2 separate regions of the Homo sapiens genome follow, and region 2 is linked to region 1. Evidence: promoter capture Hi-C in 16 types of primary human blood cells and fetal thymus (Javierre and others, 2016). All regions are on one chromosome and are shown on one strand. Each heading gives the region's core, a stretch centred on a gene start or on the middle of the fragment in contact. The rest is flanking DNA. Distances are from core to core; before and after follow the strand shown.

What was found. The method cuts DNA at HindIII sites, captures the fragments that hold promoters and counts their contacts. A CHiCAGO score of 5 or more calls a contact.
Region 2: a fragment that was not itself captured here is called in contact with the fragment with the promoter of CYP27C1 in region 1 in 1 of 17 cell types (endothelial precursors); the score reaches 5.2 in endothelial precursors.

What each region holds. Positions count from the first base shown.
Region 1 is chr2:127,216,234-127,223,341 of GRCh38, reverse strand. It overlaps CYP27C1 (cytochrome P450 family 27 subfamily C member 1), which reads left to right and starts at 3,043. Exons shown (of 9, transcript NM_001367502.1): 1 at 3,043-3,353. The coding sequence starts at 3,072. The HindIII fragment of the contact is 10,532 bases long and covers 2,549-7,108 here.
Region 2 is chr2:127,479,317-127,486,424 of GRCh38, reverse strand. IWS1 (interacts with SUPT6H, CTD assembly factor 1) reads left to right here. Exons shown (of 14, transcript NM_017969.3): 14 at 5,250-5,613. The coding sequence ends at 5,381. Among named protein-coding and RNA genes, the nearest start is that of IWS1, 44 kb to the left of the region's middle. RefSeq lists an enhancer at 5,667-6,618. The HindIII fragment of the contact is 201 bases long and covers 3,665-3,865 here.

The sequences.
Region 1 (7,108 bases), core at 1,794-4,293:
TCTTTTGCACTGCTCCATCCTACCCTATAACTAGATGTGATCGCTTCTTGCCACAAATTCCAATCATATTCAGTCCAGTTTTGTGACACTTATAGTAATCTGGCTTGTATTTGTGTACCTGTTTTATTCTTCAAATAGGTTATGGCCTCCTAAAGGCAGGATCAAAGTCTTACTGAGTACTTTGCAGCTATCATGCCTTATAATTAAGAGTTGCAAGGGCCGAGTGCAGTGGCTCAAGCCTGTAATCCCAGCACTTTGGGAGGCTGAGGCAGGCGGATCACGAGGTCAGGAGATCGAGACCATCCTGGCTAACACAGTGAAACCCTGTCTCTACTAAAAATACAAAAGATTAGCCGGGCGTGGTGGCGGGTGCCTGTAGTCACAGCTACTCCAGAGGCTGAGGCAGGAGAATGGCGTGAACCTGGGAGGCGGAGCTTGCAGTGAGCCAAGATTGCTCCACTGCACTCCTGCCTGGGCGACAGAGCCAGACTCCGTCTCAATAAATAAATAAATAAGAGTTGCTGAGTACTTATTAATCAAATTCTTTTCTTTTTTTACAGACAGGGTCTTGCTCTGTTGCCCAGGCTGGAGCACAGTGGCATGATAATGGCTCACTGAAGTCTTGACTTTCTGGGCTCAAGCAATCCTCCTGCCTCAGCCTCCTGAGTAGCTGGGACTATAGGCACACACCACCACACCCAGCTAATTTTTTTATTTTTATTTTTTGTAGTATCCAGGTCTTGCTATGTTGCCCAGGCTGGTCTTGAACTCCTGGGCTGAAGCAATCCTCCTGCTGTGGCCTCCAAAATTGTTGGGATTACAGGCGTGAGCCACCGCACCTGGTGTTATTAATCAAATTCTGTAAGTTGAGTAACTATAGCCTTCTTTGCGTCACTTACGTGATACTTCAATTATTCAAATGCAGTGTAGATTTTACAGAGTTGTAAAGGTATAAACTACTCATTAAAAATAAAATATTTAGCTGAGCCGGTGGCCTGCACCTGTAATGCCAGTTACTCAGGGGGAGGATCGCTTGAGCCCAGGAGTTCAAGGGCAGCCTGGGCAACATAGTGAGACCCAGTGTCTAAAAAATAAAATAAAATATTTTTATCTGGGCATGGTGGCATGTGCCCGTACTCCCAGCTCCTTGGGAGGCTGAGGTTGGAGATGGCTTGAGCCCAGAAGTTGGAAGGTGTAGTGCCCAGAAGTTGGAAGGTGTAGTGCCCAGTGATAGTGCCTGTGTATAGCCACTGCACTCCAGCCTGGGCAACACTGCCAGACCCCTCTCTGCTCTTTTTTTTTTTTTTTTTGACGGAGTCTCGCTCTGTCGCCCAGGCTGCAGTGCAGTGGCAAGATCTCGGCTCACTGCAAGCTCCACCTCCCGGGTTCACGCCATTCTCCTGCCTCAGCCTCCCGAGTAGCTGGGACTACAGGCGCCCACCACCACGCCAGGCTAATTTTTTTGTACTTTTAGTAGAGACGGGGTTTCACCGTGTTAGCCAGGATGGTCTCGATCTCCTGACCTCGTGATCCGCCTGCCTCGGCCTCCCAAAGTGCTGGGATTACAGGCGTGAGCCACCGCGCCCGGCCTGCTCTTTTTTGTTGTTGTTGTTGAGATGGAGTCTTGCTGTCACCCAGGCTGGAGTGCAATGGCGAGATCAGCTCACTGCAACCTCCACTTCCTGGGTTCAAACGATTCTCCTGCCTTAGCCTCCCGAGTAGCTGGGATTACAGGCGCGTGCCACCACGCCTGGCTAATTTTTTATATTTTTAGTAGAGATGGGGTTTCACCATGTTGGCCAGGCTGGTCTCGAACTCCTGAACTCAAGTAATCCGTCCACCTCGGCCTCTCAAAGTTCTGGGACTACAGGCCTGAACCTCCCTCTCTGCTCTTAAAAAATAAATGTTGGCCGGGCGCGGCAGCATTTTTTTTTTTTCAAGATTACAGCGTCAGTAATCCCAGCTACTCGGGAGGCTGAGGTAAGAGGATCGCTAGGACCCTGGGGGCGGAGGTTGCTGAGCCGAAATCGCGCCATTACACTCCAGCTTTGGTGACAGAGCGAGACTGTCTCAAAAAAAAAAAAAAAAAAAAAAAAAATGCTTAGTAACAATACGTTGTAAACGGAAAAAAATCTTATTTTTTACGTTTAGATGCATGAGTACCAACGGTATGAAATCTTCAAATAATGTAACTCAGCGAGCAGTTTAACTACTGACTAGGAAAAAGTTCCCTTCCTTGAAACCACATGGCACACCTCTGGCCTTTCCCGTGCTCCATCCCTCCCTGTGCGGCCACTTCTTTGTGCAGCCAGGCACTGGGCTCTGAGTCTAGGTTGGCGGACTCCTCTCCTCGCCTCGGCATGGAGGTGGCTTCTCTTCCCCAAGCCTTGTGCAACAGGACCCGTCCTTGTGAGGGACCAGATAAACGCCCCATGCTCAAAGTCGCTCACCCTCACCTAGTCCTCACTGCTTCCAATGGTGTGCGGAATAAAAGCGATGAGCCCGAGGAAAGCCATCGTAAACGACTGTGATTGTCTTTAAGAAAGCTTGTGGCAAGATAATAATGTGGTCATTTTACAACAGTAGGAACTACATGCAAAATCGTCTCACTTTTTTCCCCCCCTTTGAAAGTTGAGTTACAATAATTTAAGTTGAAACCATAAAGAACTGCTTCTAAAATGCAAAAAAGACCAAAGATTTCTTCAGTATACCTTCAGTAGTCATTTCGAAGGACGGTAATAATTTACAAGATCCCCGTAGACTTTTCTTTTTTTGGCCATGGTTGGAAGTGGGGTTGACCTTAAAACTTGGTGGTTTCAAGGAACGCTTAAGTGTGAATTAATATGATGTGAAGAAATAATAATAGCCTCATTCTCTTGCAGTCTAATCACAGCCTTTTCCCCAGCCCCAGGGGAGGGAGCCTTTAATAAGGGTCTGTGTAAACTGACGCCCCGGCGGCAGGAGTACGGAGAAGCACTGCTCTGACAAGTTAAGACGCAGGAAACAGCAACCCAAAGAGCAGCCCCCGAAACAAAGTTGCTCAGACAAACAAGCCGATGCAGACGAGCGCCATGGCCCTGCTGGCGCGGATCCTGAGAGCCGGGCTGCGGCCGGCGCCCGAGCGGGGTGGGCTCCTGGGCGGCGGGGCCCCGCGGCGGCCTCAACCCGCGGGCGCACGGCTCCCGGCGGGGGCGCGGGCCGAGGACAAAGGCGCCGGGCGGCCGGGGTCGCCGCCGGGAGGGGGCCGAGCCGAGGGTCCCCGGAGCCTCGCCGCCATGCCGGGGCCGAGGACCCTCGCCAACCTGGCGGAGTTCTTCTGCAGGGACGGCTTCAGCCGCATCCACGAGATCCAGGTAGCGCGCGCCGCCCCGGGAGGGAGCCAGCCCGGGCTGCTGCCCAGAAGGCTGACGGCGCGGGCGGGAGGGCGCCAGGGAGGGGCGCGGGGTTGGGGAGTCCCAGGGAGGGGCGGCGGGCAGGGATCCCCGGGCACTGGGCGCCGCGGTGGGTTGGGGGAGCTGGACTGGGGTTGTCCGGTTAAGGTTCGCAGGAAGGGGCGCTGGGGAGAGGACGCCGGAAAGGCGATCCGGGGTGGAGGAGGCAGGAACCGGGAGCGGGGCGGGGGCGTTGGGGAGGGGTCTTCGGGAAGCGGACCCCGGAGAGGGGCAGCAGGCAGAGGGAGCTGAGGAACGGGGCCAGAAAGGAACGGCTGGGAAGAGGCGGGGGAAATGGGTGTCTCGGGAGGTGGCGGCAGGGAGGGGTCCCCTGGAGGGGCCCCAGCCGGGACCCCTGGGGAGGAGGTAGCGGGGAGGGGAGTCAGGGATGGAGTTTCGGAGAGTGGTAGCCCGAGAGAGGCGGCGGGCAGGGTCTCCAGGGACTGGTCCCGGGGAGGGACCCAGGCAGGGATTGCCTGGTTGGGGAACCTGGGGAGGGGGCGCCGCGAAGGGAAACCAGGAATGGGACTGCGGGGAGGGCACCAGGGCTGAGGTCCCGGAGGAGGAGACTTGGGGAGGGGCAGCGGGCGCCTGGTGGACGCCGCCGGGGCCTGGGAGTGGAGAGCTGGCGGGACCCGCGGAGTTGGGGCTGAGGGGGGCTGCTGCCTGGGGCCGGCCCGAGGGGAGCGCTAGGTTCCCTAGCTCCTCTAGGCTCTGCGGAGCTCGGTGTCCTTAGGTGGCCGAGACCGTGTGTATTCATTTCTAGTCCTTTTTGTATTTTGTAATGGCGGGGGAAGAGGGGACGGAGGCTCGGAGGCTCGGGGTGCCGTAGGCTCTAAGCCGGAGTTGGGGGCGACACCTGGAGTTCGCGCCGGGACTGGAGGCAGGGACGTGGGAGGAACCCAGGGGTCCCAGCCACCCGCTAGGGCGTTGGGGCCGGCGAATTCCGCACGCTTCCCACTTGGAGCCTGAGTGCTGTCCTTCCCACGCCCACCTCCGTTGCGCCCTTCGTGGCAGGGGCACTGCACCCGAGCCGCGGCGGCGCCCTCCGATGCCTTCGCCCATCGTCCGCCTCCCCGGGTGCCCGGCCCAGCACGCACTGTTATTTCTGGTATGGGGGCTTTTGGTGTCTTCCGAGAACGCCCCCTTCTCCTCCCACCCAGGCCTGTCCTTCTGCCCAGAGTTCCGGTCTTTCGAGACCCTTCTCCATCGAAGCCTCTTCTAACTACCCACCTGGGCTTCAGTCATTCATTCGTTCCATCAGCCATTCAGTCAATGAACGTGAGGGAGAAGCCCCAACCCTCATTAATGGAAAAACGGGCGTGCGAGGAGCAATTTTAATTCGGCCGGGAATTAAAATTTAATTTAATTTTAATGCCAGGAAGTCCCAACCGTCCCTCCTCAAGTCCGCCACGCCAACCCTATACAGTTCCAAACCGCCACCCCCACCCCAATGCTTAGAGGGCTCAAAAATGATTTTCTTTGTAGGATCTGATAAGATATCAGGATGGCAACTTTCAAATACAGTAAAAAGTGTTTTGTTATTTGCTGTTGATGGGTTCAATACAGCCTGCTTTCTGAAGTGTAATTTAATTTTTCTTTTATCCGCCCCTACTGCCATCTGCTTTTATCCTCATACCTCACCCAGAGTTTGTTCCATGGGCACAGGTTTCTTTGAGACGGACCGTGTTAAAGCCTGTATCCAGTCAGGATGTGTGGCAGTTCAGATGGGTATTTTCCATTCACCCGCCCCTGCCGCCAGCCCTCACCCTGAGCTCAGCCCCTCCTGCCCACTGCTCAGACAGCTTCCTTCACCACACCCAGGGCCCTGGGGCACGGAGCAGAGAGTCACAACTGACTCACTTGCTGCCTTCTCACCAAGCGCACACAGGACCTGGAGAGTAAAAGAAATAAAGGAAAAAGTTCTTTCCCTTTACTCTCCAGGTGGCACTACCCCAACCCTCAAATATGGTACTTGTGGGGACTCTCACCTTCCTGCAGCCCCTCTGAGGACTCCCAATTTCGAACACATGGTTCTAGAAAAACCCTCTCTTCCCGCTCTCCAGGTTGCTCATTGTTCTGTGGCCCATCACATCCAGTTCACTTGCGCTCCCCTTGCAATCACAGAATGTTAGCTAAACAAGGGCTCTTAGTGTTCACCTACATAGCTCACCTCTCATTTTACAGATGGAAAGAGTTGGGTGGTTACCTAAGCGACTTGCCTAAGGTCAGGCAGCTGGTGATTGGCAGAGTAGAAATCATAATTTGGGTCACTAGATGCTATTTAGGGTGTGGTAGAGCAGCAGGATGGCCGAAACAGGAGTCATGTCCTCCAATGCTGGCCCTCTGCAGCCACCTGTGGAGCCTTGGGCTAGTCACTCATTCTCTCTGCACCTCAGTTTTCTCATCCGTAAAGGAGATTAGCAATCGCCATTCCTCTCATGGGTTATGATAAGGTCAAATGAGCTTAGTGTTATGAAACTGTAATAATAACAAATAATAACGATCAGTATTTCTAGAACTCTTTTCATGTGCCAGGCACAGTTTCAAGTCTTACGTGAAACTTATTTCTCCATTTTTTGGGTGAGGAAACTGAGGCATAGTGGGACCTAACTTCCAAAGGTTATTCAGCTAGTAAACTGTGAGCCCAGATTCAAACTCCAGAGTCTGTGCTCTTAACATCCAAGCAAACTCTAAGTACTGTGCCTGACTGTATAGTTCCATGGCCCACCACCAGAAAGTGATGAAAACTATCTGTATCATTTCTACCTCCAGTTCCCTTGTGCTGATTGTACCCAATTCAGTAGCTGGATTTGCTTGAGGAGTGGCCCATTTCCCAGTAGTTCTTGTTACCAGTCATTCCTTCAGTGGGCCCCTTTAGAGACCTGAACTCTTTGGGGGCCACTTATTTGTTAGGCAGAAGTGACCCCTTGGAGATGGACTCATTCCAGTTTAGTCTGAATGTCTTCATTTTCAGGTCTCCAGAAGGAGTGAGTATAAGAGTAGAGAAATGACAGTGCTCCTGGCCCACTGTTTCTGAGATTGAGAGCTGGAGTGGTGAGAAAGCTGGGCAGATACCAAAGAGAGTCTTAGTAACTTTCCCCAGCCCAGCCCTGTCTGTGTCATGCTGAGCCATGTTAGAGGCTCATCACTTTTGTGTTTTAACTGAATAATTTAGTCTATTTACATTTATTGTGATTTCTTTTTATGCAGGGAGTAACAGCTTTCTTAAGATATAATTAACATATCATATAATTCATCCATTTGAAGTATACAACCATCACCGCAGTCAACTTGTAGAACATTTTCATGACCTCAAAAAGAAATCCCATATCCATCAGCTATCACCCCCAACTCTCCTATTCCCCCTGCTTTAAGCAACCACCAAGCTACTTTCTGTATCTATAGATTGGCCTATTCTGGACATGTCATAAGTGGAATCATGTAATATGTGGTCTTTTATGGGTGGTTTCTTTCACTTTAAACATTTCAGTATAATGTTTTTAAGGTTCACTCATGTTGTAGCATGTATCAGTACCTCATTCTTTTTATGGACAAATAATATTGCAGCGTATGACTATACCACATTTTGCTTATCCATTCATCAGTTCATAGACATTTGGATTGTTTCCACCTTTTAGCCGTAATGAATAATGCTGCTGTGAATTTTTGTGTGT
Region 2 (7,108 bases), core at 2,516-5,015, 260 kb before region 1:
CTTATCTAGCCAAACCACAAATTGAGCAATAGAGAAAGGAAAAGTATTACCCAGGATTAAAGTTTATTGCTGATGAATTTTTCTTCAGTCTTAATTCAACATTATCAGGTAGGGAAGTTTCTTCTTATTAATCCCTTTACTTCAAGCAAGGCTTGAAATTGAAACCTGGAGTATTCTGATACAGTGAATTTTTTTTTTTAATAACCATGAGAAACAGAGCTTACGTGCTTCAGCAGACCTACCTCTCCCTTTCTCTTCAACGGTTTAAGCAATTCCATTGCAAATGATTAGGGTAGACACTTATTCTGTTATCATTGTAAATACTGCTCAGTGGATCTTCAGTGTTTCTCAGTAATCTCTTTTTATTCTCCAATCAAACTACTACTTCTAGCCTGGTATTCTTAAAAAGGGCCTAAGCCGATTGGAAAAGCATAAGAGGCGATTTGCAGAACAGAAACGACTCAGCAAAGTGCATCGTGCTGTCAAGTTCAGCATTGAAGGCAACAGGATGCCCCTATAGGCCTGGCCCTACCAGAGTATATACACGAGAGGTATTCCCAAGGAAGCATGTACTGTGCATGGGCTTGAATTGTCAACAGTCAGAGTGAAAAGTGTGTGTGTGTGTGCTTTCTTAATCAGAAGAGGCCAGGTCTGCTTTTAGTTTCAAAATAATGACCCTAACAGGCACCTTGGGATATTCAAGGCCTCTTGAATATTTAGAAATTGACATGGAAGTCCCTTCCTTTATCAGTATCCTAGAGAGTAATAGATAATTACTTCCCTAATATGCATTTGGGTCTTCCTGACTGGTACCCGTTTTTATGAAAAAGGTTTTTGTTAGGACCCAGAATTACAGTGATATGTGTTACAGGCATATAAACTAGTTAGTGGTTTCCTGGTGGGAGGTAGCTTGTTTCCTGCTGTCAGTGGCTCAGCAACATGCATTTGAGAACTCATTACATAAAGCCTTATACTAAATATTTAGGAGATGAATTTGATTAACACATACTCAAAATGTGGTCAGAAGTGGAAAAGACTTGGGAACATTCATAAGCCCAACTCACTGATCCACTATGCTTTGAGACTAATGGCACCTTTGTTGCGGAGCACACACAGTGTGTGTGTGTTGCCTGCCTATGGTTCTTCTCCATGACCCCTGCTTTGGCAGCTGTTTCCACTGACTCCACTCTCCTACCTGCCAGTTCATGTTGCTATTAAGTGACTATCAAAACAAAACGTACTTTCTTATTTCTTGAGAATAAATCGAGGGTAGAGAAGGACTAGTTCTGTGCCAAGAACTTCCTCCTCTCTCTCTCCCTCCTCTTTCTTGTGCCCATATCCGTGTCCCTGACCACCTCTCCATGTCCCCTGTACCTGTTTCTTTTTTGCCCTTCTGTCCTTTTTCTTTTTCTTTTTCTTTTTCTTTTTGAGACGGAGTCTTGCTCTGTCGCCCAGGTTGGAGTGCAGTGGTGCGATCTCCACTCACTGCAAGTTCCGCCTCCTGGGTTCACACCATTCTCCTGCCTCAGCCTCCCAGTTAGCTGGGACTACAGGCTCCTGCCACCATGCTCGGCTAATTTTTTGTATTTTTAGTAGAGACGGGGTTTCATCCTGTTAGCCATGATGGTCTTGATCTCCTGACCTCGTGATCCACCCGCCTCGGCCTCCCAAAGGGATTACAGGCATGAGCCATCTCCTTTTTCATTGTTTCTTCTCTCTTTTTAGCCGTCTTTCATATTTCTCTTAACATTTTTATTTTTGAGAATTGGGAACTACAATATGGCAAAGAAAATAGGTAATAAAAACTCTTAGTGGCCAATCTGCTTTGAAAGCAGAGGTTGTGTTTCCAGGGCTGTGTCCCTGTGTGCTGATGTTTCTGGTTCTGGTCCCACTTCCCCATAGGTGGAGCAGGGTTGCATATTCACTCAGGACTTGCTTCCACATTGTAGACGCTAATGAGCAGTATTAGAAAAGACATGTCCAGGAAAAGAAATGGAAATGGGTTTCCAATGAAACACTTTTTGTCTTAAGTATCATTTTTGTTTTCAAAGTTATGTAAATAAATATAAAAAATAAATAGGGTTTTTTGTTTTTTGTTTTTGTTTTTGTTTTTGAGACGGTGTCTCACTCTGTCGCCCAGGCTGGAGCATAGTGGTGCAATCTCTGCTCACTGCAAGCTCTGCCTCCCGGGTTCACACCATTCTCCCGCCTCAGCCTCCTGAGTAGCTGGGACTAGGGCAGGCGCCCACCACCACACCTGGCTAACTTTGTTTTTGTATTTTTAGTAGAGATGGGGTTTCACTGTGTTAGCCAGGATGGTCTTGATCTCCTGACCTCTAGTGATCTGCCCGCCTCGGCCTCCCAAAGTGCTGGGATTACAGGTGTGAGCCACCATGCCCGGCTAACAATTTGAGGTTTTAAATGTATTTCCAGATATGCCTTGAACTTAGTTTTTATAATTATAGAAAATGTTTAAGTACAAAGAGAAACATTATTCATGGTCCTAGCATTCAAAAGCAGTTTGATGTATTTGTTGTCTTTTTTCTACTGATAACGTTAATTAAAATTATACTAAATATCAGCCTGGACAACATAGCAAGACTCCATCTCTACCAAAAAATTAAAAAATTAGCCGGGCATGGTGGCATACATCTGTAGTCCTAGCTACTTGGGAGGGTGAGGTAGGAGAATCACTCGAGCCCAGGAGTTTGAGGCTGCAGTGAGCTAGAATCATGCCATTGCACTCCAGCCTAGGTGAGACCCTATCTCTAGAAAACACACACACACACACACGCACACGCACACACACACACACACACAGCCCAACCCCCCCACCCCACCACCCCCCGCCCCGACCAAATTATAATTTTGGTTATTTTCCTTCATTAAACCACCTAGTCGATTTATCATTTTTAATGGCTGCATAATGGTCTATCCTGAATATAATTTGCTTTTTTTTTTATTATGTATTTTCTTTCTTTGTAGAGATGGTTTCACCATCTTGCTCAGGCTGGTCTCAAGCGATCCTCTGGCCTTGACCTCCCAGCGTGCTGGGATTACGGGCGGGAGCCACCACACCCGGCCATGAATATAATGTGTTTATTCGTTCGTTTATGATTTCTGATTTTTTACTCCTAAATAATGTAGTAACCTGTGCTACATTGTATTTTTTATATGTTCATTTACTCCGTGGAATACTTCTAAAATAACAGTAAAATGACAAAGGAATGCCTATTTTTTCATGAACTTTTAAAAATACAGAAAGCATAAATAAAATTAATGCCATCTGTAATCCCACCACAACTTAATGTTAACATTTTAAATTATTTCTTTTTTTTTCATACATATGCATAGACAATTACTGGGTTTTTGTTTTGTTTTTTGTTTTTTTTTCAAGCGACATTGTGATTGTATTCTTTTATACCTTATTGGGTTTGTTTTTTACTTACCATGGTAAAAATCCATTTGAGTGAGCATTCTTGAGTGGTTTTGCATTGTGTCTTCACACAGTTGTACCATAATTGAAGCTGCTTTTGGCCTTGCTCTGGTAAAGCAGTGTAGCACACACTCTTAATTTCTAAGGAAGTGTAGCGTTCCCTTGATGAATCAGGAGAGAGATCATTGAACTTGGTGTATGAGGTACTCTGGTCTGTCTTTTCAAGCTTGGGGTAAGTAGGCATCTGCAACTACCAGTCATATATTTTGTAACCCACTGGCCCGTGTGTGCCCTGATTGCTGAGGCTAGACAGATCCATCAGGGCTTAGACAGTTAGTGAGGGTCCTGGGAGTAGGCGAAGGGAAGTCCAGTTAATGTGTGAAGCTGCTGGGAATTGTGTAGTTGGCAGAGATTTGAGCAGGTAAAGCTTCCGATGTGGACCAAGTACAAGTACTAAGATCACGGCACATCCTCTAAAAGGAAGTCAGATATTTGGGACTGTCCAGGAAATCTGGGAGATAGTGTGATGGTGGCATAGCTCTTTCTCATCTGACACTTTTTATGCTTACTCAGAGTACGAATGCCAAGTATTGAGACGATACAGAATAATATTTGAATTGAGATATTCCTAGAAAGACAGGTCAACATGGCTCTTGGTCAAGAATGACTTAGAGTTCCTTGCCTAGTGCTCAGCTGGCTTCATGTCATAGTTGAGGCTGGGTCCACAGGTGGGATAAGATTCCACCAAAGCTCACCAGGCTGGTACTGACCCCAGAGTGTCTCCCAGGCCCTACCTTATTTTAGCATTCTTTTGAATTGAGTTTCAGAGGTGATTCAGTAGTAAATGTATGGGGAGAAGAATTAGAAAAACCCATCTCTTTTTAAGCAGTCATCATTCTTAAACATCTGAATTGTTTTACAACAGAGTCAGCAAACCTTTCTAGCATTTCTAAAAGATGGCAGTTTCTTGGAGACCACATCTTTGCAAGGCAGTATTTTCAAAATATAAAATAGCCCCCAAACCAAACCTTTAAACATGAAGGGCAAATGGGTAAAGACTTAATATTCTTTTTGTGTCAAGTATACTTAATGTAAATCTAGTTGCTTGTGAAGTAGTAAAATAGTAATAGCTCCTATTATTTTGAGCACTGACTATATGTGCTCAGCCTCTGTGCTTGGATCTGACATCACTATCTCATTTCCTTCTCTCAGCAGTTCTGGAAGGAGTACCTACCCTGGGTATGCTTTGCCCAGGGTCACAGAAGTTACTGAATTAGAGCAGGGATTCACCCCAAGTGTAAAAACTCAAGAGCTCCTGCACTTAGGGGTTTACTTCACTAATCATCTAACCTCATTTATTATGCTTAAGGCTTTTTCTCAGCTGACCTGACTTTGCTTTAGGTCATTCTTTTTTATGCCAGCACTGTTTGAAAGTGCATGTCAAGCGGCTAGCTCCACATTTGGTCTTCGAAAGGGAAACGCATGCAGTTAAAACGTAATGTACATGATGGAATTGGGAGGATCATAGTCTCAGTTTCCCCCCCCCTTTCTCCCATCTAGGAGACCTCCATGGACTGCAGCAAAATTAAAAATAAAGCACAGACAACAGAATTATTCTTCACTGAGAGAGTTTAATATGCGTTTCTAACACCATCTATACTTGCTTTGTTGTTCTTGAGGTCATCAACACACATTCTGGTTATTCCAGAGCTAGAAGCTCTTCTGGTTGCTAACTCAGTTATAAGAAGATGAAAGACATAACTAGACTTACGTATTTCAGTAGTTTGCTCTTTAATTTTTCCCTTACTCTTAGTTTCAGGCGACCTCCAAGAAGGGTATCAGTCGACTGGATAAACAGATGAGAAAGTTCACAGATATAAGGAAAAAAAGCAGATCTGCACACGCAGTGAAAATCAGCATTGAGGGCAACAAAATGCCATTGTGACCTTGCCTGGAATGTGTCCCCATCTCTACTCTAAGAAATGCGCAATGGACTCTTTGGAGAAAGAAGATATTTTAAAACATTTTTAGTGTGTCTGTAAATGGTTCAGCGTGTATCAGATGTTGTCATAGGACTCACATTTCTCTCAGTTATATTTAAAACCGTTGTGTACTTTGTACAAAGGAATACTAGTCATACTTCTATAAACTTTACACAATAAAATTTCATTCTGGTTTTTGGGGGGCTGTCTCTTCATTTCTTAGAGGATACATTCTTAATAGGGGCAAAGATTGTTTCTTGTTGTGTGGGAAAAAATCTTATGATATTATAGGGGTTTGTGACCCTTAGAGGTTCAATCCTCCCTCATTGTGGTATAATGAGGAATTTGTGTGGCCTTTGCCCCTGGTTGCTGACAAGGAATGTCTAAAACACTTGTGGTTTCCTGAGTGATAGAGCGTCTCTTGTTATGCTAACGAGGTGACTGTATGGTGGGCTTTAGGGTGGAGGCTGGTAACCAGAAACAGCTACTACAGAGGGTTGGGCCAGCAGGACCCGGGAGATTGAGACGCAGTCAGTGACCTGTTTGATTTAATCAACCATGCCTGCCAAATGGGACCTGATGAAGAGCTCTGGACCCCACAGCTCAATGACGCTTCTTGGTTGGTGAAAGCATTGGTGTGCTGGGAGGGAGAGGATTCCCCTCCATGAGGACAGGGGCACAGAAGCTCTGCCTTCCCTCCCAGACCTTCCCTTATGTATCCCTTCATTTGACTGGCCCTCCTAATTCATATCTTCTGTAGTAAAACTAATCATAGTGTTTTCTAGGGAAGGATAGTGCTTTCCTGAGTTCTGTGAGTCATTTCAGCAAGTTCTTAAACCTGAGAGGTTTATGAGAACCCCAAATTTGTAGCTGGTCAGAAGCGACAGTAGCCTGGATGCCTCACTTGTGGCTTGCATCTGAAGTGGGGGCAGTATTGTGGAGGACTGACCTCTTAAACCCGTGGAGTCTGATGCCAGCTCTGGGTGTGTCGTATCAGAATTGAATTGCAGTACCTCAGTTGGGGTGGAAATGGAATACCAACAAAATCTTATTAATGTGTTTCTCTTATTTGGGATAATTATTTTGATTTTCATTTTTCTCTGGGATGGGGGCTTATAACAGAGAAAAGATCAAGAAATACTACTGTCTTCAAGGAAATATGGATATAACTGAAAATCACTATGCCGAAAGCTTAGAGCAGTTGAGCAGTTAGAGGAGAGAGAAAAATTATAGCTTGTAGCTATGTTTCTTGTTGCTCTATTTTTGTGATAATAGTCTCTATAGACTTAATTATGAGAGGTCTCTTAAGGTCAAGATGACGAGGCCCAAGAACGTTTTATCAACTAGATTATTTTAATTTCAGAAATCCTATTCTGATACGGATTGGCACCTTGATCTTCAGAAACACATAAAACTACTTTTGGCCAAAAAAGCCTTTGAACAGCTAAAATAATGAAGTTTAGATACTAAAACACTGCTCACAAGAAACTCTCAAACTATTTACTTCCAGCAAACGCAGAAGCACAGTGGGATATAGTGCTTTGTAAAAAGCAGGTGCATAAAGGCATTAGAAGGTAATAGCTAGCCACTAGATGGAGACAAAAACCTAAGCTTTTCTGCAATGTTTCATACAAATACCCTCAAAAACACTTGAGAAGGAAAAAGCAGAGGCATCTAGTGAAGCCTTACA